Linked DNA regions of Homo sapiens: all the other regions are linked to region 1. Evidence: promoter capture Hi-C in 16 types of primary human blood cells and fetal thymus (Javierre and others, 2016). All regions are on one chromosome and are shown on one strand. The core of a region is centred on a gene start or on the middle of the fragment in contact, and the rest is flanking DNA. Distances in the headings are between cores, read along the strand shown.

Region 1 (4,605 bases), core at 385-2,884:
GGGACCCAGGGTCCTGGCAGAGGAAGCGAGGTCTGGGGCAGAGGGGATCTGGCCTGGGCGGGGGAGGGGCTGCGACCAAGTCCAGGGCACCAGGTGGAGGAGGGCAGAGCCCGGAGATGGCCACCACCACCCGGGAGCCGCCTCTGTCCCCAGCTCCGAGGCAGACGCCTGTCTTGGTGGGGCATGCTCAGGCCACGGGAGGTGGGCAGGACCACTGTGGGTGCTGCAGGGGCTGCCGGCGGAGGCCAGGGCACAGGGAGGGGAGAAATCACAGCCTGGATCTCATTCTCAGCCCAAGCTACACGGAACCGGGGGTCCCTGCATAGAGGCCTGTCCTGCAGCATGGCTCTGAGCAGCTGCACACACTCAGGCCCAAGTGGCTCCTCCAATCATCTCTGTGCCCACGACTGTGCAGGGAATGGCCAGGACCCCAGGGAAATCCCTCGGACATCTGGCGCTGCCCGTCCACCCCAGACCTGTTCCTTTGTTCCCCAGCTCCCTCCCAGCCGGCCCCTGAGGCCCTCCCTAGGAGGAGGAGGTCCCTGAGGTTCTCTCTGTGAGGGCCGACCTGAAGGCCTGAGACGCCTCCTCCCACCTTTGCAGGTGACCCCTCAGAGGACCCTGGGCCCCCAGAGCCGAGGGTCATGGAGACTCCTGGGGCCCATTCATGGCCCTGGGACTGTCCCTACCCTGGTGGGACTAAGCCACAACCTGGAGCAGCTCAAGGCTGGCACAACAGACACCCATAAATTAATAAAAATAATTGTGAAAACACAAGCAAAACAAGCTCGTCGGCATCCAAGAGTTCTGCAGCAGCAGGGTTAGTCTGAGAGTTGCTCTCTCTGTCCCACCTGGGGCTCCAGGGCGCTGCAGTCCGTCACCAGAGGGACCAGATGCTCGTGGCCCTCCAAGGGCTTAGTGTGGAGCTACTCACCCCCATCAGCACAGAGAAGACCCACGTCTTGTGGCTGAAGCAGGGGGGCAGTCTCTTCGACAGCTGCAGGTCGCTCGGCTTCGCGTCTGGGGCATAGCTGGCGGGGTCTTGCCGGCCCCGCTCCAGCGTGGGCATCCGGTCATAGGCCAGCTCCTCTCTGAATGGCTCCTGGGTCATGGCACTTGGGGACACCACAGCTGTGCTGAATGTACAGCCACGTGTCACCAGTTCTTTATCTGGAATAAAATTATCATCGGCTTTGGCCACTCTGAGGAAACTTCAATAAGTTGTTTCCAAGAAATATTTTTTAACAAAAGAAATATTGTTCATACTGAAGTGCTCTAAATTTGAAGAAGAAAATGAGCACTTGAATCTAAAAGTGAAAAAGAAATAACTTTCCTAGAAAAACGGACCTGAATAGTCTGGGTTCAGGGTGAGATTCTACACTTTAAATGCCTCATTGATCCATCTGGGCCCTCCAGGTGCAACACCTGACAACATCCATCGGCAACTTCGTCCATGAACACATCACGCCGGGGACTCAAGCACGTTAAACTGCTCCAATTGGTAGCTAAACGAGAGATTGCAAAACATGCCTCTACTCAACGGCTTAATGTCTGAGCACTTACCTCCCCCGCTGCTCTGCCGTTGGGAGCACTGGTCTCTGGGTGAGGGACTTCCAGCAAGAAGTATTCACAAATGAAACAAAAGCTCAGCAAACTTGAGCTGAAGGCAGGGGAAGGAGAGCTGCTTCCTGAATATCAATGAGGGGAGGAATCGGGTGGATCGTAGAAATGTTTCGTGTTGGTTGTGTAAACCACTGCCTCGGAGCTGTCAGAACCCAACTAGGAAAGGAAGGGGCCCTGCCTGTGCCACTCGCCACAGAGCTCGGGTCTCTCAGAAGAAAGAAGCGTCCCTAAGAATAGAATCCCACCAAGTACACATTCTGAGCAGGCTCTGTTTCTGAAACGTAACTGTTTACTCGAAGGTCTTCTACATCTTTCCAAGTAGCCTTTTTCCATCCCCCACAGCCACACGGTGGGAACCTCCTTCACACGGTCACATAAGCATTCACGCACTCGGCTTAGCTGTGTGGCCTTGGGCGGCTCCGGATTCGGCCCTGTGGTTTGCGTGGGCAGCCCGGATGGCTGGTGGGCCCGGTCCTGCTGCCCCCTTTATCTCTGCTCACCAAGCAGAGAAAAACCACAGTAATGTGTGTCGCCCAGAGACACTGGCACCCTGACAACTACAGCAACGGGTTCTTTGTGCACATTGTAAAAAGGCTCAAACTAAAGTTTCTGAAAAACCAGCTCCTTAAACCATGAACCCACATTAAAACTTGAGCAAAGTCATCAGGTTCCAGACCATGGGATGTTCTGTTGTCTTCGTTTCAATCAAGCAAGAAGCTTTTAGTAAGCTTTTATTAGCTTTTAGTAAGTTTTTATTAGCTTTTAGTAAGATTACACATACAAGCATCCCTGTCCCAGTGAAAATGCCCACTAAATCACCTCGATCAAAATGCGTAAGTGTCAAGTACGCATAAATGCAGCTCAAAACACTTTGCTCAACCTCACCCCCACAGGAAACAGCAGTGATAAATTTTTAGCAATAAACGAAAGTTTAAGCTATACTAGTATTTTAGGGTTAGTTAATTTTGTGCCAGCCACCACAGCCAATGTTCTGTTGTCTTCATTTCAATCAAGCAAGGATGAGAAATAATTTTCAAAAACTATAATCTGTGAAGTCAAGAACTCATTTTAATGGATTGAGAAACCTCCCAAACTTCACTATCTTTTAAAGCGATAAACGGGATTAGTGGGAGTGGGTCCAACTGGATCGAATCCTCCTGTGTTTCTTTTTGTTTGGAAAAAAATGTTAATCGGATTTCAACATTTTTTTCTTTCAAAAGTTGCTCTCCACTTAGAAATACAAACAAGCTGCCCTGAACCAGAGGTTGCAGAGCAAATCCCTCAGCTTCCCAGATCATAAGTCATCACTTGAGAAATGCTCCCAAGTTTCTGTTGGCAACACTAGTTTCTAGAACAGGCCCTGTTCTTTCATACAATCTTCCAACAAATTCTTGCTCCTAAAATGCCCTTCATCCCTCTGCCTGCTGATGTCCCATCATCATTCAACATTCAACAAACATTTATGGGGTGGACAAAGAAGTGACGTCCTTCCTATAGGCTGTTTACATTCATTGGGGGCACAGGAGTGCACAGGATAAACAAATTAGTGTGTTATACAGTGATATGGTTTGGCTGTGTCCCCACTCAAATCTCATCTTGAATTGTAATTCCCATAATTCCTACATGTCGTGGAAGGGGCCCGGTGGGAGGTAATTGAATCATGGGGGTGGTTACCCCCATGCTGCTGTTCTCCTGACAATGAGTGAGGTCTTATGAGATCTGATGGTCTTTTATAAGGGGCTTTCCCCGCTTTTGCTCAAGACTTCTCCTTCCTGCCACCTTGTGAAGAAGGACATGTTTGCTTCCCCTTCCACCATGATTGTAAGTTTCCTGAGGCCTCCTCAGCCCTGTGGAACTGTGAGTCAATTAAAGCTCTTTCCTTTATAAGGACTTGACTCTAAAATTACCCAGTCTTGGGTATGTCCTTATAGCAGCGTGAGAACAGACTAATGCATCCAGTGACACACATGATTTCCTCTATGAGGGAAAAGAAGTCAGGGGAGAGAAATGAGGGGCTGCTGTTTGCAGGGGCCAGGGCAGGCCTCAGTGAGAAGGAGGCAGGGAGGGGAGGCTGGCAGAGTTGAAGCAAAGGCCACAGGTTGGGGAAGGCAGGCGAGGACCATGCAAGGGGGATACAGGTAGGACAGCCAGGTGCCAGCACCTGTGGGTATGGAGACGACTCTGCTTCAACTCTGAGACAGACCTGCTGGAGGGGTCTGGGCAGAGCAGCATCCGGTCACTCACTGGGTGGAGAGCAGGCTGGGGGGTGGGAGGAGCAGGTGCTGCCTGGCATTGAGGTGGCAGTGGGCAAGTGGTGAGGAGGGACTGGGCTCTGAACAGGGTTTGAAGAGCGGACGCAATCTGCTGTCAGGGCGACGTTGCTGAGTTCTGTCTGAGCAGTGAGGACAGAGATGAGAAGACCAGGGTGGAGCAGGTGTGGAGCGAGGATCTGGAGTTCCATTCTGGACATGATGAGGCCGAGATGTCTGTGGGCATCTGCCGGGTCTACTGAGTCCAGAATCCCAGGGAGTGGCCCGAGCTGGGGAGCTGAGGGGCAGCCCTGCAGGCACAGCACCCGCTGCGAGCTGCCCTGGCAGGGAGCCCATGAGCCACCAGCCCTCATGCAGCTCGCTCTTGTTTCCAAGCTAATCTCCCACCAACCAGTAGGTCCCTGGGACCCTGCTGGCTCCTGTATGTGTTCCAGCACCCAGCCCAAGACACAGGCTTAGCGGGGATTTGAAATGCTAGGGAGTGCGCCACTCTCTCCCTTCCCACAGCAAGAACTATCAGTACACTCTGCATCCATGGACAGGCAAGGTCCAGGCTGTCATCAGACTGACAGATCTGACCTAGGAAAATAAAGCTATGTCAATCAAAAATAAGTCGGGGCTGGGCGCAGTGGCTCACACCTGTAATCCCAGCACTCGGGAGGCCAAGGCGGGTGGATCACCTGCGGGTCAGAAGTTCGAGACCAGCCTGACC
Region 2 (4,245 bases), core at 73-2,572, 290 kb before region 1:
AAGGGACCACAGCTGCCCTGGACTAAAGGGGACGCCCCGGAGCCTCTGGCAAGGGCATCACTGTGACTGGAAATCCCAAGGACTCGAAATGCAAGCCCCTTTCACCAGCTCACGGTGCGGACCCTGCTCCTCCTGACTGCACTGACCTGCCTCACCATGTCAGCAGACACCAACCTCAGCACAGGGTGGAGACAAGCCCTCTGCCAGCTGCAGATCCGTCCCACAGGCTCATCAGACAGGCTGGAATCCCAGCTGTGGCGTGGCCCCCACCCAGCTGACACGCAGCCCCGGGGAAGTCAGCCCTGGCAGGGCCAGCTCACAGCAACAGCCCGAACCTCTGCACTCGGCAGACTGAGTCGCGGCTACGGCAGAGCCTGCGGGAGGGCCTGTACAAGGGGCAGACCGGGGCCAACAGTGCAGCCCAGGAGGCATCTCCTTCCTTCAGACACTAAAGTCTCAGGGGCCTGGCACTCAACGGCTACAGCCTTGTTCAAGCTGCTTCAAGTGGAAGCAAAATATAAACACAACACACAGACTGTTAAATTACAGTTTAAGTGAGACTGTGTATTTGCCATTGAGGAATTACTCTTTTCAGGTGTGAAAATATTGTGGTTATATTTAAGAAAAATGATGGAGAGGCTTTACTGATGAGAACGTTCATGCTGGGTTTTTAAATGTCTGATTCTTGGTTTTCATCCTATTATAAGTATCGTAAGTCACATTTCTATACCAACCAACAAGCTTGCTTGTGGCTGTCTTCCCTAATGACTTCCCCATTCCAGTCTGGCACTCGCCTCTCCACAGACCCCCATCTTCTCTGAGGGGCAGGACCCCGCCCGCCCCACCTCTCCAGAGACCCCCAACTTCTCTGAGGGGCAGGACCCCACCCGCCTCACCTCGGAGTGGACTTTCAGGCCACTTGCTTCTCCACCCACCTTCCCATCAGCTCACAGGAAACGCCCTTTTCATCAATTGAGTCATTGTGAACATTGGGTGTAACAGGTGATTCGAGGCCACCTGTGTCTCAGTCACATTGTGTTTTCCTTACAATGGCCCCAGAAAAAAAATAAAAATAAAATGATTCCAGAGCTACAAAGCAACAAAAATGGTCTCCAAAGGCTCCTGCTAAGCGTTGGGTGTTATGAGGAGCCACGCTCACCACAGCGGAGGGCCAAGCAGCTCCAACCATGCGAGGTCCTCAACCATGCGAGGTCCTCAGTCCTGTGACCCAATAACCGTGCGGGGTCCTCAGCCCTGTGACCCAATGGCAATGGAGGAAGCCACTGATAAAAAAAAAAAGCTAAAAAGGTAACTTACTGCTCTACAGTGAAAATGGTACAACTGTGTGCGAAGAGAAGCGCTGGAAGCTATTTTGAGAATGGTGAGTGGACCTGCTGGCAACCTCCTCACAGCTCAGTCCTCAGGGCACAGAAGACAAGGACAGAAGGGCAGTCCACCTAGAGGGAGGCCCACACAGCCAGAGGATGCCTCGGTGGGCTGCACGGAAGCAAAGGCTGCGGGACCAGGCACCAGCCTGGACTCCTGGGCACAATGGGGCGGCCCAGGGCCCGGACAGGTATGGCTGCCAGAGGGTCCTGTAGGCAAACGTTCCTCAGAAAAAACACGAGGCCCCCAAAGCAGAGGAGGGATCACGTGCCAACAATAACAGCCTTTGGGAGAAGAGAAAACCAAGCGCTCACCTTGAAATAGAAAAGCCTTTATTCTATGGACCTAACGTAATTGACGCCAGCCCCAAAAGAGACATTCTAGAGTCTGGGTACTATACTATGGTGAACTAAACAGAAGAATCCCAGAACAGAACAACAAACAGGCACAAAATGAGCAAAAGGATGCATAAGAAATTCTCAGCTGTGTGCACAGGAGTAAGTTTCTAAGAGAAAGAAAAGCTTAATGGCTCTCATTCAAGTTGCCCAAATGTAAAACAGGATAAAAGGGGCGAAGCTCTGCAGACAGGAGCCACAAGAAGTTCAGGGGATGAAAAGGGCCCTGAGACCATGGGGACCCGCTGACCTGTGTGGCATCATGAAGACACTGCGTCACTCCGAGCACAGACGTCCATAAGAGATGAACGTCTTTGTTTTAAAAGAAAATTGTACAACAATTCTGTGTCTTATTTCAACTGTCTGCTGTTCTGACTTGGATGTGCAGGGGAAGGGCAAGAAGGCTGAGAACCAGCTGCCAATGTTGTGGCAAGAGGGTCTGACCCTACTGTCTGCTTCGTGTAACCGGAGCGTGTCAAGGTCAACTGCAGAGACACACGGCAAAACACAGTGGCAATGACTTTCTATCAACGTCTCCAAATCCGATTTAGTTTTAAAATTCCTCTTTCACCAAATATGGGACACACCAGCTCTACTTCCTCACCCTGCCAACCTAGATGTACACAGACCATCGCTCGTAAACTCCCTCCTCACCATGCCAAGCCTGCATTTGCCCTGGGTTTTGCTAGTTCTCCTTCTAGATAGGCGGATTTCTTCTCCTACATTTATTTCTTAGTCATAAAAACATCTTTGCTGCCTGGACCTTTCCCCAGACATTCTTTGGCAACGATCACGGCTGCTACCTACCAACTCTGCAGAGGAGCTGGCCGGGGACCCTCGGGGCAGACAAGGCCTCTGCAGGTACCGTCCCTCCCTTCACAACATCAGGGAGGAGTGTTTAAGTGCCAATAATCTAAAACAGCCCTTTCAAAATGCTGCATTTGATGGCCTAGCGCACAATTAAATGGCTCCCCGCCAATTTACAAAATGCAACAAAAACATTTCTCACTCTCATCATTCAGGCTACCTTTACTCTTCAACACAGTGTAAGATCTAAACCATTCTTTTCAAATAGTTTCTCAGGCCCAAGTTAAAGAGAAAAATTTTATTCTGTGCCTTAAATTTTATCAACTGATTATGTGAGAAAACACAGACAGCACAAATGATAACGTCTCCTTAAAAGGAAACAACAGCCCAGTGGGAAAATCAAGTGTTCCGGGATTTGTGAATTTTACGGAACTGGCGCTAACCTGAGCCTCCGTGCACACCAACGCTGCTGCCCGTGTCTGGGTCTGTGCCTGTGCCTGTGCCTGAGCCTGAGCCGTGACGGCAAGAAAGCGGGGCAGCCCTCACCGTGGCTTACCTTCCTCGCCCGCCTCCGGCCCCAGCGCAGCTCCGTCCTCTTCGAAGCCTTCCAAGCCTGGCCCCGTGGGCAGGGGCTGGCTGTGCTGCTGGCTCAGCTTGTTTCGGAGAAGGGCAATTTCCTTTTTGAGCAGCTTTGCCCGCTTGCTCCGGGAGCCGCTGGACTTCATAGCGCAGGTGAGGTCGAGCATGTCCAGCAGCTCTCTCAGCTGCTCCTCCAGGCCCAGGTGGGCTCTGTTGGCGGGGTCCAGCAACCTGTCCACTGAACCAAAGGACACATGCTGTCAGTCATCAGGTCCCACGCACCTTCTGGGAACACATCACCGGTCCCGTCTTTCAAATCACCTTCGGCCAAGGCCCTGAGAGTGGCTGTTAGCAACGAGGCCCAGGCCCTGCTCACCAGAGGCCCCTCCCCTGCACTCTGAACCCACGAGTAGCTGCTGCTACAGGAACACACTGGGATGCTCCTGATGGAGAATTTCTACTCCCATGACACTGTCAGCACAGAAGGGGCAGCGTCCAGGTAAGATCGCAACCTCTCCTGGACCAGGACCCACTGAGGCTGCCTGTGCAGACAGCCTGGCTGCCTGGGTGAGGGCACAGCACACAGACCCCAGAGAGAGGCGCACGCTCCACCAACCCAGCACAACTCAGCTGGACCTGCGCTGGCTCTGCAAACAGAGGTGACGACTGGCAAATGTGTTAAGTTAGGGCCATTGCACGTCCTAAGTGGTGTCTTAGCTGAAGTCTTCAGATGCTGATCATTGTGTGGCTTTAGTAAACGGGTTGTAAAATTCACAGATCATTCTGAATTTCAGACGTATTTACTACAAAGTCCCTAGAAACTTCGCTTTCAAAAACACCAAAATTTATAAAGCACAAATTACCTTAAATAAGTAAGAGATGGCCAAGAAAAGAAACTGCTCCTCAGAGCTATCTGAAGATAAAACCAGAGCAAGAAGGAGAGAGAAGACAAAAAAAAAAGTAAGACTGCCCAAAAACACATGAACTCTCTTCATCTAGAAACAGGTGTTTTACTGAAAGCATCTGTCTCTTTGGCTGAATAAATAAAGTAGTAGAGAGAAACAAATCAGTCCTTCAA
Region 3 (4,306 bases), core at 1,793-4,292, 270 kb after region 1:
TCAGGCTGGAGTGCAGTGGCGCGATCTCGGCTCACTGCAAGCTCCGCCTCCCAGGTTCATGCCATTCTCCTGCCTCAGCCTCCAGAGTAGCTGGGACCACAGGCGCCCGCCACCACGCCCGGCTAATTTTTTCTATTTTTTTAGTAGAGACGGGGTTTCACCGTGTTAGCCAGGATGGTCTCGATCTCCTGACCTCGTGATCTGCCTGCCTCGGCCTCCCAAAATGCTGGGATTACAGGTGCGAGCCACCACGCCCGGCCTTCCCTCTTCTTTTTAACACAGAATGTACAGTCTATTTTTCCTTTTTTTTTTTTTTTTTGAGAGGGTGTCACTCTGTCATCTCGGCTGGAATGCAGTGGAATGATCGTTGTCACAGAAGTCTCAACCTTCCCAGGCTGAGGTAGTCATCACACCTCAGCCTCCCAAGTAGCTGGGACTGCAGGTACACACCACCATGTCCAGCTAATTTTTTTTTGTATTTTTAGTAGAGACAAGATTTTGCCACGTTGGCCAGGCTGGTGAAAATTCTTACATTAATACAAGTCTTTTCTGTGGACATATGTTATTTCTTTTGAGTAAACAGGAGTAGAAGTGCTGGGTTATAACATAGATGTATGTTTCACTTTTTTAAGAAACTGCCAGTTTTCGGCCGGTTGTGGTGGCTCACGCCTGTAATATGCCAGCACTTTAAAGGAGGCCGAGGCGGGTGGATCACAAGGTCGGGAGTTCGAGACCAGCCTGACCAACATGGTGAAACCCCGTCTCTACAAAAAATAAAAAAATTAGCCGGCCATGGTGGCCGGCGCCATAATCCCAGCTACTTGGGAGGCTGAGGCAGGAGAATTGCTTGAACCCGGGAGGCAGAGGTTGCAGTGAGGCAAGATCGTGCCACTGCCCTCCAGCTTGGGCGACAGAGGGAGACTCTGTCTCAAAAAAAAAACAAAAAAGCAAAAACAAAACTTCCAGTTTTCCAAACTGGAAACATTTTACACTCCTACTAGTAATGGGTGAGAATTCCTTTCTCCTTGCCTATGACAGCACTTAGCCTTTTTACTTTTAGCCATTCAGGCGGTAGTGGTATCTTACTGTGGTTTTAATTTGAGTTTGTCTGATGAATTATGATGGTGAGCAACTTTTCAGGTGCCTTACGGGCCATTCGTGTATTTTTTTGTGAAATATTAATATCTATTCATGCTTTTACCCACTGTTTATTGGATTGTTCTTTTATTCACTTTTAGGAGTTTACAAAAATAAATTCTGGTTACAAGTCCTTTGTGGTGTGTGCATGCGTATATGCATATACATACATAGTGAGGGGAGGAAGAGGAAGGGGGTGAATTTTTTTTGTTATACTAGTTGCTTATTTTCTCTTTCTCTTTCATCTCTTTCCCTCCCTCTCTCCATCCCTCTTCTTTCTTTTCTTTTCTTTTTCTTTTTTCTCTCTCTTTCCCTACCTCCCTTCCTTCCTTTCCCCTTTTCCTCCCTGTCTCTCTCTCTCTCTTTCTTTTTTGATGAGGTCTCACTCTGTCACCCAGGCTGGAGTACAGTAAATGTGATCATAGCTCACTGCAGCTTCAAACTCCTAGGATCAAGCAGTCTTCCCACCTCAGCCTCCCTGGCTAATTTTTTTTTTTCTTTTTTTGAGATGGAGTCTTGCACTGTCACCCAGGTTGGAGTGCAGTGGCATGATCTCCACTGCAACCTCCACCTCCTGGGTTCAAGTGATTCTCCTGCCTCGGCCTCCCGAGTAGCTGGGGTTACAGACACCTGCCTCCAAGCCCAGCTAATTTTTTTGTATTTTTAGTAGAGACAGGGTTTCACTATGTTGGCCAGGGTGGTCTTTAACTCCTGACCTCGTGATTCGTCCTCCTTGGCCTTCCAAAGTGCCGGGATTACAGGTGTGAGCCACCGCACCTGGCACCTGGCCCCTGGCTAATTTTTTAAATTTTTTAAATTTTAATTTCTTGAGACACGGTCTCGCTTTGTTGCCTAGGCTGGAGTGCAGTGGCGTGATCGTGGCTCACTGCGGCTTTGACCTTCGGAAGCAATCCTCCCACCTCAGCCTCCCAAGTAGCTAGGACCATAGGCACAAGCCACCACACCTGGATAATTTAAAAAAAAAAAAATTCTTGGTAGAGATGGGGGTCTCTCTGCGTAGCCCAGGGTGTTCTTTAACTCCTGACCTCAAGTGATCCTCCACCTTTAGCCTCCTGAGTCGCTCAGATTACAGGTGTGAACCAGTGTACCCAGCTCCTGTTTGTTTATTTTGTTTTGTTGTTTCTTATTTGTTAATGGTATCTTTTGATGAACAGAACATTTTAATTTGGATATAGTAAAAATTTACCAATTTTTTCTGTTATGATTATTTTGTGTCTTAAGAAAATTTTGCCTGCACCAGGTTGTGTAGATGCTGCCCTGTGTTTTTTGTAGAAGCTTTACAGTGGTAGCTTTTGTATTTAGGTCTGTCATCCATCTTTTTCTTTTTAACAGCTTTATTGAGATAAAATTAATATGATAAACTATACATGCTTAAAGTATAAAATTTGATAAGTTTTGACATATGTATACATTTGTGAAATTGTCACTATAGTCAGGATAGTAAACATATTCATTGTCCCCAGAATTTCCTCATGCGCCATTGGGATTCTTTCCTTCCACTCTATCCTTTCCCTCCTTCTCTAAGCAACTGCTGATCTCTTTTCTGTATGATCCATCTTGCTTTAATTTTTGTGTGTGATGTGAGGTGGGGTCAGGATGCATTTTTCTCCATATGGATATGCAATTATTCTGCCATCATTTGTTGAAAGGACTCTCTTCTCCATTCAATTCCATTGGAACCTTTGTTATAAATTAATTAAACATGTCTGCAGGCTTATTTCTGTTTTTTCTGTTCCATTGGTTTATTTTCTATCCTGTGTTAACACCGCGATGTCTTGATTATTGTAACTTAATGGTATATCCTGAAACCAAGTAGTGTAAAAGAACCGCCCCCCCCCCCCCCCCAACTCTTTTTTTGAGACGGAGTCTCACCCTATTGCCAGGCTGGAGTTCAGTGGCGCGATCTCCACTCACTGCAACCTCCACCTCCTGGGTTTGAGTGATTTTCCTGCCTCAGCCTCCCGAGTAGCTGGGATTATGGGCACCAGCCACCACGCCCAGCTAATGTTTGTATTGTTAGTAGAGACACGGTTTCATCCTGTTGGCCAGGCTGGTCTTTTTTTTTTTTTTTTTTTGAAACTGAGTCTTGCTCTGTCGCCCAGGCTGGAGTGCAGTGGCGTGATCTCCGCTCACTGCAAGCTCTGCCTCCCGGCTTCATGCCATTCTCCTGCCTCAGCCTCCCGAGCAGCTGGGACTACAGGCGCCCACCACCGCACCCGGCTAATTTTTTGTATTTTTAGTAGAGATGGGGTTTGCCGTGTTAGCCAGGATGGTCTCGATCTCCTGACCTTGTGATCTGCCCGCCTCGGCCTCCCAAAGTGCTGGGATTACAGGCATGAGCCACCATGCCCGGCCTGTGGAGTGTTTTTTTTTATGATGAAAAAGGTTTATATTTTGTCAGATGCTTTTTCTGTGTATGTTGAGATGATCACTTGTGTTTTGTCCTTTATCCACATGTGATATGTTAAATTAATTGATTTTCGGGTGTTAAAGCAAGCTTGCATTCTTGGGATTAAATCCCCTGTGGTATGGTGTAGAATCCTTTTTATATGTGGTTGGATTTGGTTTGGTAGTGTTTTGTTGAGGCTTTTTACATCTACCTTCTTAAGAAATATTTGTGTGTGACTTTCTTTTCTTTTGATGTCTTTGGTTTTGGTATCAAGGTAATACTGGGACCCATAGAATGAGTTGGGAAATTCTTCATTTCTTTTACAGATCAGATTTCTATCCGGGATTATTTTCCTTCAGGATTTCTTGTAATGTGGGTATGATAAGGACAAATTCCCTCAGCTTTTGTTTGTCTTAAAATGTCTTTATTTATATTTTTGTTTTCAAAGGATATTTTTGCTTGATACAGAATTCTAGGTTAACAGCTTTTTTTTTCCCTTTCAGCACTTTTTTTTTTTTTTGAGATGGACTCTTGCTCTGTCATGGAGGCTGGAATGCAATGGCACAATGTCGGCTCACTGCAACCTCCATCTCCTGGGTTCAAGCGATTCTCCTGCCTCAGCCTCCCAAGTAGCTGGGACTACAGGTGCGTGCCACCACGCCTGGCTGATTTTTGTATTTTTAGTAGAGATGGGGCTTCACCGTGTTGGCCAGGATGGTCTTGATCTCTTGACCTCATGATCTGCCTGCCTTGGCCTCC
Region 4 (4,513 bases), core at 931-3,430, 270 kb before region 1:
AAAAGCTTATCTCCACATACAGAGGGTTATTCAGCCTTAAAAGGCAAGGAAGTTCCAATGCATGCAATGACATGGAAAAGCCTTGAAAATGTGCTCAGTGCAATAAGCCAGACACAAAAAGACAAATACTGCCTGATTGCGCTTATGTGAGGGACTGAAGAGGAGTCAAATTCATGGAGACAGGGAGTAGAACGGTGAACGCCCGCAGCCAGGGAGGGAGGAATGGGGAGTTCCTGTTTAACTGGGACAGAGTTTCAGACTGGGAAGACAAAAAGGCTCTGAAGATAGATGGTGGTGATGGCTGCACAGCAACAGCAATATCAAAGTGCTTCATGCCCCTGAGCTATACACTTACAATGATTAAGATGGTACATTTTATGTTATGTGTACGTGACCACAGTAAAATACTGAAAAAACTTGAATACAGAGAGTTAAATGGAATGTGCACCTTCCAAATGAGTAGAGGAGGAAAAATGCCCCCGACTCCAAAACAGCAAAACCATCTGAGTCAATACATCAGAAGAAAAAGTGAGCCGGGCGCAGTGGCTTCCGCCTGTAATCCCAGCACTTTTGGAAGCCGAGGCAGGCAGATCATGAGGTCAGGAGTTCAAGACCAGCCTGGCCAACATGGTGAAACCCCATCTCTACTAAAAATACAAAAAAATTAGCCAGGCATGATGGCACACGCCCGTAATCCTAGCTATTCAGGAGACTGAGGCAGGAGAACTGCTTGAACCCGGGAGGAAGACATTACAGTGAGCCGAGATCACACCACTGCACTCCAGCCTGGGCAACATAGCAAGACTCAGTCTCAGAGGAAAAATAAAGAAAAAGGGAAAAAAAGGATCATGGAAACAAATCCAAAATAGATCAGTAATCCAACATAAGTCAACAGTCTAAAGTTGCTAATGAAGAGGTTGTCAATCTGGTTAAAAATTTAAAATTCCAGTTTTAGGCCAGGTGCAGTGGCTCACGCCTGTAATCCCAGCACTTTGGGAGGCCGAAGCAGGTGGATCATGAGGTCAGGAGTTCAAGACCAGCCTAGCCAAGATGGTGAAACCTCGTCTCTACTAAAAATACAAAAATTAGCCAGGCGTGGTGACAGGTGCCTGTAATCCCAGCTACTTGGAAGGCTTGAGGCAGGAGAATCGCTTGAACACGGGAGGCGGAGGTTGTAGTGAGCCGAGATCGCGCCACTGCACTCCAGCCTGGGTGACGGAATGAGACTTCGTCTCCAAAAAAAATATATATATATATATATATGTAATTCCAGTTTTAAAATACCACAGCAAGGCTGAAGCTGGACATAAGGAAAATGTTCAGGTGTACATTAAGGAGCAGAAAGTGGGTACTGCTGACCGATCAGCTGAACTGAGGCCAGAGAAACACCATGACTGGAGTGAAGAGGGCTATGAGGGCTACTGGACCATGATCGAAGGAAGTGACCAAATTCCAAATGCGTACACACTGCCTAACGGGACATCTTGAAAATATCAAATGCAAAACCTCCAGGAGCTACAATGAGAACTGTTAAACCTACAAGCCTAATGAAACCAATTCACGCAAAAATAAATTAAGGATATTAAAAATGTAAGCATGACTTATACATTTGACCCAACAAGCTCATAGAGAATATTGCATCAAAGAAAGAAAGAACACACATATTCACAAGCACAGATGGACTATTTATAAAAAATGTATAACCTATTGGGCCATAAAGTCTCAACAAGCATCAAAGAATGAATGCGTACCATGCAGGTCACGTCCTTTGCCCACAGCACAAGCAATGGATATCAAGAGTTTAAAAAATTAATTTGGTTAAAAAAGAAAGAAAGAGAAAGAAAGAAAGCGAGCGAGCAAGCAAGCAAGCCCCACATGCTTCTAGACTGCTATCAGGTAAAGGTAGAAATTATCATATATAGGAAAACAGTGGCCAGACGCGGTGACTCACACTTGTAATCCCAGCACTTTGGGATGCCAAGGCGAGAAAATTGCTTGAGCCCAGGAGTTTCAGAACAGCCTGGGCAACACAGTGAGACCCCAGCTCTTAAAATATATATATATGTGCACATATAAAAATAAATAAAACTCCTATTAAAAGACCCTTGGTTAGGCAAAGGCTTCTTACATGTGACACCAAAAGCACAAGCAACCGAAGAGAAAGCAGATAAACTGGACTCCATCCAACTTGTAAATGTTTGTGCTTCAAAGAACACTGAATAAAACAATAAGATGACCCACAGAATGAAGAGAAAGTATTTGCAAGTCATGTATCTAATAGGGAGTCTAGTACCCAGAACAGAGAACTCTTATGACAACAGTAAGAAGTCAGCTAACCAATGAAAACATGGCAAAGATCTGAACAGACATTTCTCCAAAGAAAATATGCAAATGGCCAGGCAACATCTTCAGCCACTGTGGAACTGCAAAGCAAAACCCCCGAGCGATCGCTGCCCCTGCACCATGGAATGGGTATCATCAAAAGGACAGCGCCTGAGAATATACAGGGGTACAGCTGCCTTGGAAAACAATCTGGCACTTCCTCAAAATACTAAACAGCATTACCACATGACCCAGCAACTCCACTCCTAGAATATACCCAAGAGAAATAAAAACACACTACCTAAAAACTGTTACACAAATGTTCAGAGCAGCATTGTTCATAATAGCTCCAAAGTAGGAAAAAAACAAACATCCATCAAAAGATGAACAGATTTTTTTAAACGTGGCCTATCCATACAATGAACATTACGCAGCCGTGAAAAGGAATGGCACACCGACCCAGGGGGCACGATGGATGGACCTTGGAAACATGCTCAGTGAAAGAACAAAAAAAACACATTTCATAAAAGAACAAAAAAACACATTTCTATGAAATGCCCACAACAGGCAAATACACGGAGACAGGATGCAGATGGGTGGCTGCCAGGGCTGGGGGAGGATGAGAAGGTGGGAAGTTGGGGTAATGGCTAAGAGGCACAGGGTTTCCTTTGGAGGTGATAAAAATTTCTAAAATTGGTGGTGGTGATAAATGCACAACTCTGTGAACTAAAATCCACTCAACTGTACACTTCACATGGGTAAATTTCATGGTGTGTGAATGACAAGAGTCCCCCCTTAACCAAGGGGGATGGTTCCAAGACCTCCAGCGGCTGCCTGAAACTTGGAACAGGACCGAGCGCCAGCCTGGATGTTGGTACCTGCTACTAAGCGGGTTAAGGTGCAGGCAGCTGCACGGCGTGGGTGCACTGGACAAAGGTTAGATTCACGCTCCCGGCAGGCAGGACACGACAGGGAGACTGTGATCACGCTGCTCAGAATGGTGCACAACTGAAAACTTATGAACTGCTTACTGCTGGAATTTCCCATTTAATACTTTCAGACTATGGCTGACCATGGGCAACTGACACCATGGAAAGCAAAACCACAGGTAAGGGGAGGGTACTAAGTGTCTCAGTGAAGCTGACAAAATTCCCCCACGGGCGGCAGAACAGGGATGGAATGGGACACACCGCACAGGCGAATTCAGCCGGCGGTGCTGAGTCTCCCAATTCCTAGGCTATGGGTGGGTTTGTGGGCATTGCTATTTACATTTATGGTCCACACATGATTTGGCATGTATCAAACATCATCAGTTTTTAAAATATACTAAGATCTATAGTATTAACATATCAAAAATTCCTCTCAAAAACAGAAAAATCACACAAAATTTAAAAATACGTTAAGATTAAACAGTATTTGAGAGGCAGAAATAAAAGAACATGGATAAAATCCTATGGCAAGGAGCACAGTCTGCTCCTTTTTTTTTTTTTTTTTTTGAGACAGTCTTGCTCTGTCACCCAGGCTGGAGTGCAATGGCGCGATCTCGGCTCACTGCAAGCTCCACCTCCTGGGTTCAAGTGGGAGACTGAGGCAGGAGTCATTCTTCACAGATACTGTCCACAAAGACGATCCAAAAGAATCTTACAACATGTTGTATCCATCTACAACACATAGCTAAAAACAAAAATGCTAATTTTAAGAAGTACTATATTAACAAGTGCCTAGAAATAAATCTAATAGACTTTTATGGAGAAAACCATCAGCTTCTATTATGACATTAAAGAAGTCCTAGAGAGAGCCAGGAGTCGTGGCACATGCCTATAATCCCAGCTACTCAGGAGGCTGAGGCATGAGACTCACTTGAACTCTGGAGGTGGAGGCTGCAGTGAACTGAGATCATGCCACTGAACTCCAGCCTGGGCGACAGAGCAAGACCTTGTCTCAAAAAAGTAAAAGTAGTCTTACATGGGCAGCAAACTGGGCCACCTCCATGTTTAAGTGAAATTAACAGTGTAATTAACGGTGTAAAGAGTCCAAGCTTCCTAAAGGAACACTAATGTCGGGAGGACTCTAACCAGAAGTCTGACAAGGTGAAGCAGGAACTTTAAAGCTACTGCCCACTGTACACAGACGAACCAAGGACCTCACACGCCAGGACCATTCTGGAGACAAGGTGCCGCCCATGTACACA
Region 5 (4,517 bases), core at 809-3,308, 330 kb before region 1:
AGTAGGGGGCCTAGGACAGAAGCAGCCCCCGGGGGAGGCAGGGGTCAGCCTCCAGGAGCTCCCGGTGGGGAAGAGCCTGGCAGAAATGTGAGCAGTGCTCTGGAATGAGTCAACCAGCGACAGCAGGCAAGTGGGGGCACCCTCCAATTGTCCTGAGAAGGGCCAGTTTCTGAGCCAAGGCTGCAGCAGCCTAAAGTCCCTGCGGCTGCAGCCTCCATCCCACCAGTCACAGCGACCAAGCCTTGTGGGGAAGACCTCGCCCTGCTCCCCTCTGGCCAACCGGGGTCTGCACTCTGAGCCTCTCCAGAGTGTCCGGCAGGGCCTGCAGGGCAGGAGGCAGCGCCCACTCCGTGGGGAGCACAGGTGCCCTTCACCCCTACCCCACCCACAGGGCTCCAGGCAGGACAGGCAGGGCAGGGGTCCGCAGCCCCCCACATGGCCATCCCGGGGCTCCACGGCATCACATGGAATGTCTCTGAGCAGCTCTGCCCGAGCCTTCCCCTCCAGAGCAGGCCCCGACCCCCAGCCCCAGGCTCACCCCAAGGCCCCCGTCCTCAGCCAGGGCCCCCATGCACTGCCCCAGGTGTCCCAGCCCTGATGGCTACTCCCCGGGGGTCCCACCGCAGTCCCTGTTTCACCCCTGACCCCTCTGCTGGGACATCCAGCCAGGGACCACTGGGCCCTGTGCCCTCCCATGGGGTTCAACGTCCCCACCCCATGGCGGCCTTCTGGGGACTCCCGTTGGGATCGTGGGGGCAGCACCAGTATGGGGCAGGGGACAGAGCCGATTCCCTGCGCAGGTGTGGTTTGGTCCGCGAGGGCTACGGGGTCCTGGGGGAACGGTGGGCGGCAACCAGGAGAGCCCGGCAGGGACCCCCCCCATGCCAGGCCCAGTGCGGCCAGGAGGACCCAAGAGGGGTGAATGAATGAATGAACGAATGAATGAATGAGGGAAGGAAGGGGAGGGGAGGGGAGGCCAGGCCCTGAGGGCAGGGCAGGTCCCACCCCTGTCTCAGGCCCCCCATGAGGCAGATGGGCCCACCCTGCAGGAGCCCCTCATTCACTGCCCTGGGAGATTCCCAGCCATGTCCTGCCCTGCGGGGCCTCGGGGTCCAGGGAAGAAGTGGCCCCCTCCGGCCCCTCACAGAGGCGCCCGCTGCACCTGAGGGTCCTCGACCCCACCCCGCCATCCCCCGGACCCCCGCCCTGGGCTCCAGCTTCCTCCCCACCAGCCCCACCAGCCCCGGGAAAGGCCACGCTGTCTCCTGCCTCCCCGCGGAGGTCTCATGAGCCGCCGCGCCCCGGGCTGCGAAGAAACACCCCAGTCCCCTCCCCCGCGACCCTCCCTGCCTCCTGGGTACCCTGCAGACCCCACACGGGACCCCCAGGCAGGTGTGACCTCGAAGAGAAGCCACATTTCACCACCTCCTCAGAGACTCAGATGAAGGTCCACACACTAAATGCAGATCTGGAGGAGGCGGAGCAGGGTCACTTCTGACTTTTTTTGTTTTTGTTTTTGTTTGAGATGGAATCTCGCTCTGTCGCCCAGGCTGGAGTGCGATCTCGCAGTGGTGCAATCTCGGCTCACTGCAAGCTCTGCCTCCCGGGTTCACGCCATTCTCCTGCCTCAGCCTCCCAAGTAGCTGGGACTACAGGCGACCACCACCAGGCCCGGCTAATTTTGTTTTTGTATTTTCAGTAGAGACGGGGTTTCACTGTGTTAGCCAGGATGGTATCAATCTCCTGACCTTGTGATCCGCCCACCTCGGCCTCCCAAAGCTCTGGGATCACAGGTGTGAGCCACCGTGCCCGGCCCAGACTTTTCTTTTCTGTGAATGCTACATGTTTTGGCATCTAGCCTGACAGGTAGAATTTACTTGCAAGGACCTCACATTGATCATCAGTCAAGGATCAGGGCTCCAGAAGTAAATCATACAGAAAGTGATCACACCGTGTCTCAGGCCACACATGGCCCGTGCGTGCCAGTCCCAGGCCACACATGGCCCGTGCACTCCAGGCCCAGGCCAAGCCTGCGGCCGAGTGGGCAGGTGACCCTGGGAGGAGCAGAGGAGACGGGAAGGCAGGTGCCCCTCAGCTCCCTCCAGCGCCCACCTGGCTGTGGTTTCTCAGCGGGAACAAGAAGAATGAAGACCAAACCCTGAGGGGAAGATGTTTCCCAGCCTCTGGGCCAGAAAAGCTGCTCCAGGGAGGAGAGGGGTTGCACATGGTGCCCCACGTCCCCTGTCAGAGGCCGCTGGCAGGACCACATCCCAGAGCCCCCCCAGAACCCGGGAGGCGCAGGCCTGGAGCCCAGCCAGGCACACACCAGGGCTACTCTGACCCTGGAAAGAGGTTAGAAACAGCCGCTGTCTGGATTCTCAATGACAAAGGGATGGATGTTGAGGAAGACAGAGGGGGAGTGGGTGTGGGAAGGAGGACACTGAACAGAAAGGGCCTGGATGCCCACGATAACAAAAGCAAAAGCTGAGGAAACTTCACAGGGGGCAGGGTTGGAAAGAGGAGGGGTGGGGTTCAGGCTAGACAGAGGAGGGGTGTGGTTTAGGCTGGACAGAGGAGGGGGTGGGGTTCAGCCTGGACAGAGGAGGGGTGTGGTTCAGACTGGACAGAGGAGGGGGTGGGGTTCGGGCTTGTTCTGCAAACCCAGCGTGGGTACCTCGGCCTTTCTTATCCCCAGCATGCACTTGGAGCCTGTGCCCCTCACCTGTCGGCGCTCCCAGCTCGGGGGTTTGTGCCCCTTCCTGGTCCCCTCCCCTTGGGTGTTGCCGGGACCTGTTTCTTGCTCCTAAGCCACATCATAGGATCAAAGCGATAGAGTGTCCGTGGCTAAGTGTGTGTGCACGACCACACCACGCACGATTGTGACCCTGCCTTGCTGGAGCCGCTGTCTCCTTTGCTGCGGGAACACAGCAGCCGTGCTGGGCAACACCACGTACCTGGGACCTTCGGTGGCCTCTAGCACCAGAGTGCAGCCTCTGGACAAAAGCCAGTGAGAAAATGAAGCCGTCAGTCCTACAGTTGGAAGGACGGATGGTTGCCAGCACCCTGAGTGAGCGTGGAGGTGAACTCTGCCCCAGCTCAGCCTCCAGCCCAGCCGCCACCTGATGGCAGCCTGTGGGCCCAGCAGAGGACCCCACGAAGTGGCGCCAGACCGCTGGCCACAGAGACTGAGATGACAGATGTGTGTCGTTTTGAGCTGCAAGATTTGTGGTGACCTTGTTACACAAGGACAGACGCTAACACAACGGGTTCCCACAGCAGGTCTCCAGGGCTCAGGGAGTTCTAATCACGAGACCTCGGGGGGGGTCTTTCGGCTGAGTGCAGAGAATAACGCGGCTGAAGGTCACGGCCAGACGCCTGAGGACCAGCCACTGACACCCTCAGCATCGAGAGCTGCTGCCGAACTGTGGCCAGGCCCTTTCCTCTTTTTTTTTTTTTTTTTTTTTGAGACAGAGTCTTGCTCTGCCGCCCAGGCCCAGGCTGGAGAACAGTGGCGTAATCTCAGCTCACTGCAACCTCCATCTCCCTGGTTCAAGCGATTCTCGTACCTTAGCCTCCCAGTAGCTGGGATTACAGACATGCGTCAGCACACCCAGCTAATTTTTGTATCTTTAGTAGAGGTGGGTTTTCACCATGTCGGCCAGGCTAATCTCGAACTCCTGGCCTCAAGTGATCCACCTGCCTCAGCCTCCCAAAGTGCTGGGATGACAGGTGTGAGCCACCGCGCCCGGCCAGCCAAGCCCATTTCTAAGAACGTCCATGGGAAGGAAGGAGGGATGTAGCCAGGGCCAGGACCACCCCAAGAGCAGAGTGATGGGTGCGGGTGGGGAGCAGAGCTGGAAGGGGCCCAGGGGCCGTGGTTCGTGGACCTCAGGCCCAGGCCAGCCCCCGAACGCTGCAGCTCCTGGCTCTCCAAGCAGCTTCCTAGGGACCATCAGTAAAACTGTGACAGCAAACCCACAGTAATGTGATTTAATTAAGAGATAACGACAGTGGAACTGGGAATTGTGCCGGGTAACGGGTCGTCATCGCCTCGGGAGCAACAACTCGGAACTCAGGATATTAATGCATCACCGTGGCACTGTTTGGGGAGAATTGCCGTGTTTTTCAAATGCCTTCAAACTTCTATTTTCCTTCCACAGTCTCTGAGTTTGCCCCAGCCCCCCACTGATTAGTTCCAGCTACATCTGCCTTTTCTCATTAAAAGAAAAGCTTGTGCATTTTATTTTCAATTAACTTGCAGGAATCTATCAGGAGAAAGTCCAGCTGAACCTCATCATTCACAGTGCAATTTCTCAGAACCGCCAGGGACGGCAGGTGTGATCCAGGGTGGGGCTGGCCTCCCACCTGCTGGGGCACGTGCACTCCAAGGGCTCTCTCGGGCCAGGGCCGCTGCGCTCAGCCTCCTGCACAGACGCACCTGCTGGGGCACGTGCACCCCAAGGGCTCTCTCGGGCCAGGGCCGCTGCGCTCAGCCTCCTCCACAAAGCAGGGAGTGT
Region 6 (4,424 bases), core at 165-2,664, 310 kb before region 1:
GTACACACAGGCCAGAGTCATTTATACAATGCAATGCATTCTGCTCCCAAGCCAAGTTGAATTTTTATGTGCCTGTATAAAAATGCATATCAATATACCTTTGCAAATGTATTTTTCATTATAAAGCAAATGAATACACTTTCTACAATAAATAATCCGCTGGGAGGCACACCTGCGGGGTTTGAGGTGGGCGGGACGACGGGAGCGGGGACACACCCACCGGCGGTCACGGGCAGCGGAGTGTTTTTGGTGATCTGCAAGTGATGTACACAGCATAACTTTATTCTCCCCTCTTTCCACAAAGTACCATTCAAAATAATGTCATTTTCTTTCTTAAAATACACATTTGTCATTGTAAATTTACATCCCGTCTTATTAAATAAGTGGTACTCTGTGTAAAGAGCATGATTTACAAAATTATTAAACATTCAAAAGTCTTTAAGAAAAAGCTACATATCAAAGAAAGTGACGCCAGCAGCACGGCCTGGGGACGTGCGACAGACGCACTGGGCTGCCCGGACGTGCCCACCCCACTCACAGCGCCCAGACGGAGATGGGTTCCTAGAAAACTTGGAAATAAAACCTCCCCCCTCCCCGGGGAAAAAGAATTAAAGAGCTATAACTAAAAATCAGAATAAGTTAAGTTTTGAACAATATACAAACATGTACAGCTTATCAACACTATGGACAAGACCCGCGCTGGCGGCCGGGCCGTCAGTCAATGTCACTGAGGTCGCTGGTCGGCTCCCCGTGGACGCGGCTCAGGTGGTTCATGGCGCGGTCAAAAGCGATCCGCACGGCCTTCCGGATGCTGGAATTCCTCCCTTCCATCATCTTTAACTTGTCTATAGTTTCGTCAATACCAAGGGGAACCATTTTGGACTTAGGAAGCCACTGCCTTTTTAAAAGGAAAAACAAGCGGAAAATCATTGCTTGCACATGGTATTTCAGCAGGCTCCATGTAATCATCTAACAAATTCACTGCCCTCCGATAGAAAGGGGCCCTGCTCAGCACCACCAAGACAGCTGGGCCCCGTGCAGGGACAGGCCCGAGGCCAGGAGTGCACCCCTCCCTTCCCCTCCCCGACTTGGGGATACGGGGAGCTAAGTAAGGCATAAAAACCATCACCTCCTCCTCCACCTCCAAAACGTTTCCCAGTGCCTGCTTAGTGACAAGACATGCACACACCAAGCCCAGAGTCAGGGTGGGCCCTGGAGCAGAGGCCGGTGGTTGGGGAGACCCCATCAAAGGGGCCCTCGGATGGACAAGGTGTGGGCCTCGCTCAAGGCCTGACAAGAAGCAGTGGCCACGTGGCCAAAGAGGCAGAGGTCGAGGCAAGGAAGAGAAAGACGGTAGGGATGCCTGTGCTGCCAGTCCTGCTCCAGGCACACCATAGGCAGGTGGCCCCGAGCCCCTGCGCCAGGTCCCAAGTGCAGCCAGCTCCACGGGGAACCAGGAAGCACCTGCCCGGGCCACGTGCGCAGGGCACAGCCGGGGCCACAGCTCCTCCCAGAGGCATGTGCTGCCAGCGTGTCCTGCACAGAGGGATCTTGGGGTCTAAACCCTGGCACATGAGGGTCCCAGACGCTCTGGGGAAAAGCAGCTCAGGGCACAGGGGGAGCCTCCTGTGATGGGGTGGATGTCTGAGCAGAGCTGGATGATGCTGGGACAGAAGGCTCTAAGAACAGGGCCAGAGGCCAGGCCCGGGCAGGGGCCATGTCCTGCAGTACAGGGGTCCGGGAGCACAGCAGAGGGACCCCCAACACTGGAGCGGACACATGGGTAAGGAGTAGGGAAGAGACAGTCCAGACCAATGGGGCTCAGGCGAGAGGGAGAGGAAGCCATCGGGCAGAGACAGACCCGGTGCTCAGTGCCCGTCCCACAGTCCCGGCGAGGGGGCTGGGCAGTGCCCTTCTCCACCAGGCAAACAGCGGAGCACTCACCTCCGACTTTAGCTGTGCCAGGGCCCAGCAGACAAAGACGCTGCTCACCACAGGGACACTCAGGTCACCGAGCCCACGGCCCCCAACCACCCCAGCCGGTCCCCGGAGTCTAAGGCCTCTCAACTCACCAACTTCTCTTATTATCAAAAAAGAGAACGAGGAACAGCTTCTCATCAGACTTGGTCTGCATGTGCTCCCCAATCTTCAGCACGTCCAGGGGTGGGGCCGGGATGGTGACGCCGTTGTGGTGGCCAGGCACACGGGGCATCTTGGGGTCGATGATCTGCACGAGAAGGACCCGCTGAGGTCATTGTGAGGCTCACACCCATAAACAACCCCACCTGTCACTGGCACCCCCCCCCGCCTCCCCACCCCAGCTGTGTGAGCCTCCTCAGACCACCCCCACGCCCCCCTCGCCGAACCACCCCTGCCCCTTCCAGCTGTGTGAACCTCCTCTGACCAACCCCGCCCCCCCGCCAGCTGTGGAACCTCCTTGGACCACCGCCGTGAGCCTCCTCGGACCACCCCCGCCCCGCAGCTGTGTGAGCCTCCTCTGGACCCGCAGGCGCCACGAGAGCCGTACTCACCAGTGCCGGGTAGGAGGGGTAGCCGCTGCACTTGGCCCACACCACCTTCAGAGGCTCCAGCACCGAGGCGGCGGCATCAGTGGAGATCCACATGCTGCTCTGGCCGACTTCTGCGGAGAGGGGCGTCAGCAGGACACAGGCGTCAGCAGGACACGGGGCACGCCCCGCCCCCCCACAAAAGGTGCAGCAACAGGGTGGGTCCCCCGAGCACAGCCCAGCTCCCAGGCCTTTCTCAGCCACCCCGGCAGCACCACTGCCTCCCCTGTGGGGTCCAGGCCCTTGCATCCCCACTGTCCCTGCAGCCCACCTGGGGCCACCAGCCTCCCACGGACCCAGGGAAGCTCCTGCCCTCCAGGCTACAAGGCTCCAACTCCAGGTGCCCAGCACAGTCCCTTCTGAGCCCTCCTTGCCGCAAGGACGGGGCTCCCAGCATGCTCCTGCCTCATTTACACAACTGACACCCCAAATGGGAAACCAAAGTCCTGGCTCCCCCTCCGCCAGACCAGCTCCCTGCTGTCCCTCCCACCTGGGGGATCTCCGTCCTGATGCCCCCTCACAGCATGGCTGCCTTCCACAGTGAGGGCTGTGCGACCCCAAACCCTGGGGCCTCCCCCTCCCCCAGGGGCCTGAAGTTGAGGGCACCCACCCTGCAGTCAGTCCCCTGTGCAGCTGCAAATGACCACTGAACCTAAACAACCCCAGACAGCCTTGACAGTGCCTGGCAACCAGCAGCCACACAGAGCTGGACGTTCCACAGGGAAACGAAGGCAGGATGGAGGAGGCGCCACCTCCGCAGGCACCCCGGCAGGGCCACAGCCCAGAGCCCCTCGGTGTGTGATGAACCCTTCCCCGGGAGGTTGGCCAGGGTGGGGCTCCACACAGGGCACCATGCTCCCTGAGCCGGAGTCCAGTCCCCAGCAGTCGAGCCCTAAGACGCTAACCAGGAGGTGTGGAGAGCCATGGAGGCAGGTCCGGGCGACTCACCGGCTGCGATCCTGGCCGCCTTGGCGTAGTTCCCATTCTCGATGCAGGAGATCAGCTCACTGCGGTCCTCCAGCGTGTGCCGTCGCACAAGAGCCGGTTTGCCCCGCCCACATTTGGGCGCATTAAAGCTTCGGGAGGAAGAGCAGAGGGAGTCAGGCGCCCCGCCCCTGCCTTCAGCCTCACTCGGGCTTCGTCCCGTGAGCTGTCCGCCACCAAGCTGGCCACGCATCCTGCCTGACACCCCCGCGGCCAGACGGGCCTGTGGGTGCGCAGGTCTGGAGGGAGTGAACCTGTGGCAGGGGGGACTCAGGAGGCCAAAGTGGCCTTCACAGGGCAGACAGGCAGGGCTGTGCTCATTGCCAGATTCTGGGAGGTAAAGATCAAGTGTAAAACTTCATTGCAGATTCTAAAATTGTGTTCCTATTTCACGCAGTGTTTTTCCTACTTCTGCTTGAATTCTATAAAGCAGATTAATATGCAGCATGGGAAACTGTCCACAAGGGCAGAGCACACATGAATCCCAGGCCAGAATTTTTCAGAGAACACTAAGATGGGAGCTGGAATGTCCCGGCTTCCAGGACAGCCAGGCGGGGCGGGCGGTGCTGGGAGCTGCGTGGTGGGAAGCGCAGGGCCGCGGTGCCCACCTCGAGTCGCAGAGCGGGCTGTTGCTGGAGGAGATGCTGGACTCGGAGGCACAGCGTCGTCGGGGTGTGGCCTTCCTCCCCAGGCCGCCGCCCGGCTCCTGCTCGCTCCTCGCACCCCCAAAGCCGTTGGTGAGACCTGGAACACAGGCGGGCAGGCCCTGAGCTCAGCACAACCAGGGCACACTGAAGCATGACTCAACGACGTTACACTTGGAACACATCTTACAAAGCACGTTTCACAGACAGGTAAGACAGCATCTTCCTT

The links. Contacts are between HindIII fragments. The CHiCAGO score rates a contact against its expected background, and 5 or more counts as called.
Region 2: a fragment that was not itself captured here is called in contact with the fragment with the promoter of MLC1 in region 1 in 4 of 17 cell types (erythroblasts, megakaryocytes, total B cells and 1 more); the score reaches 6.4 in erythroblasts.
Region 3: a contact is called between a fragment that was not itself captured here and the fragment with the promoter of MLC1 in region 1, in 1 of 17 cell types (neutrophils). The highest score is 5.3, in neutrophils.
Region 4: a contact is called between a fragment that was not itself captured here and the fragment with the promoter of MLC1 in region 1, in 4 of 17 cell types (erythroblasts, megakaryocytes, neutrophils and 1 more). The highest score is 12.0, in erythroblasts.
Region 5: a contact is called between a fragment that was not itself captured here and the fragment with the promoter of MLC1 in region 1, in 11 of 17 cell types (neutrophils, M0 macrophages, activated CD4 T cells and 8 more). The highest score is 9.1, in neutrophils.
Region 6: a fragment that was not itself captured here is called in contact with the fragment with the promoter of MLC1 in region 1 in 4 of 17 cell types (total B cells, erythroblasts, activated CD4 T cells and 1 more); the score reaches 6.0 in total B cells.

Annotation. Positions count from the first base shown.
Region 1 is chr22:50,083,792-50,088,396 of GRCh38, forward strand. MLC1 (modulator of VRAC current 1) reads right to left here and starts at 1,635. Exons shown (of 12, transcript NM_015166.4): 1 at 1,564-1,635; 2 at 935-1,170. The coding sequence starts at 1,111. RefSeq lists an enhancer at 1,283-1,907. The HindIII fragment of the contact is 3,674 bases long and covers 1-2,338 here.
Region 2 is chr22:49,790,890-49,795,134 of GRCh38, forward strand. BRD1 (bromodomain containing 1) reads right to left here. Exons shown (of 13, transcript NM_001304808.3): 7 at 3,145-3,405. Among named protein-coding and RNA genes, the nearest start is that of BRD1, 35 kb to the right of the region's middle. The HindIII fragment of the contact is 1,166 bases long and covers 740-1,905 here.
Region 3 is chr22:50,356,004-50,360,309 of GRCh38, forward strand. All of the region lies in intron 1 of PPP6R2 (protein phosphatase 6 regulatory subunit 2), which reads left to right. Among named protein-coding and RNA genes, the nearest start is that of PPP6R2, 15 kb to the left of the region's middle. The HindIII fragment of the contact is 1,222 bases long and covers 2,432-3,653 here.
Region 4 is chr22:49,808,306-49,812,818 of GRCh38, forward strand. The region is part of intron 2 of BRD1 (bromodomain containing 1); the gene reads right to left. Among named protein-coding and RNA genes, the nearest start is that of BRD1, 17 kb to the right of the region's middle. The HindIII fragment of the contact is 4,355 bases long and covers 4-4,358 here.
Region 5 is chr22:49,749,649-49,754,165 of GRCh38, forward strand. No RefSeq gene overlaps it. Among named protein-coding and RNA genes, the nearest start is that of BRD1, 76 kb to the right of the region's middle. The HindIII fragment of the contact is 4,339 bases long and covers 1-4,228 here.
Region 6 is chr22:49,773,519-49,777,942 of GRCh38, forward strand. BRD1 (bromodomain containing 1) reads right to left here. Exons shown (of 13, transcript NM_001304808.3): 9 at 4,160-4,295; 10 at 3,516-3,643; 11 at 2,532-2,641; 12 at 2,073-2,227; 13 at 1-898. The coding sequence ends at 715. Among named protein-coding and RNA genes, the nearest start is that of BRD1, 52 kb to the right of the region's middle. The HindIII fragment of the contact is 4,454 bases long and covers 1-3,641 here.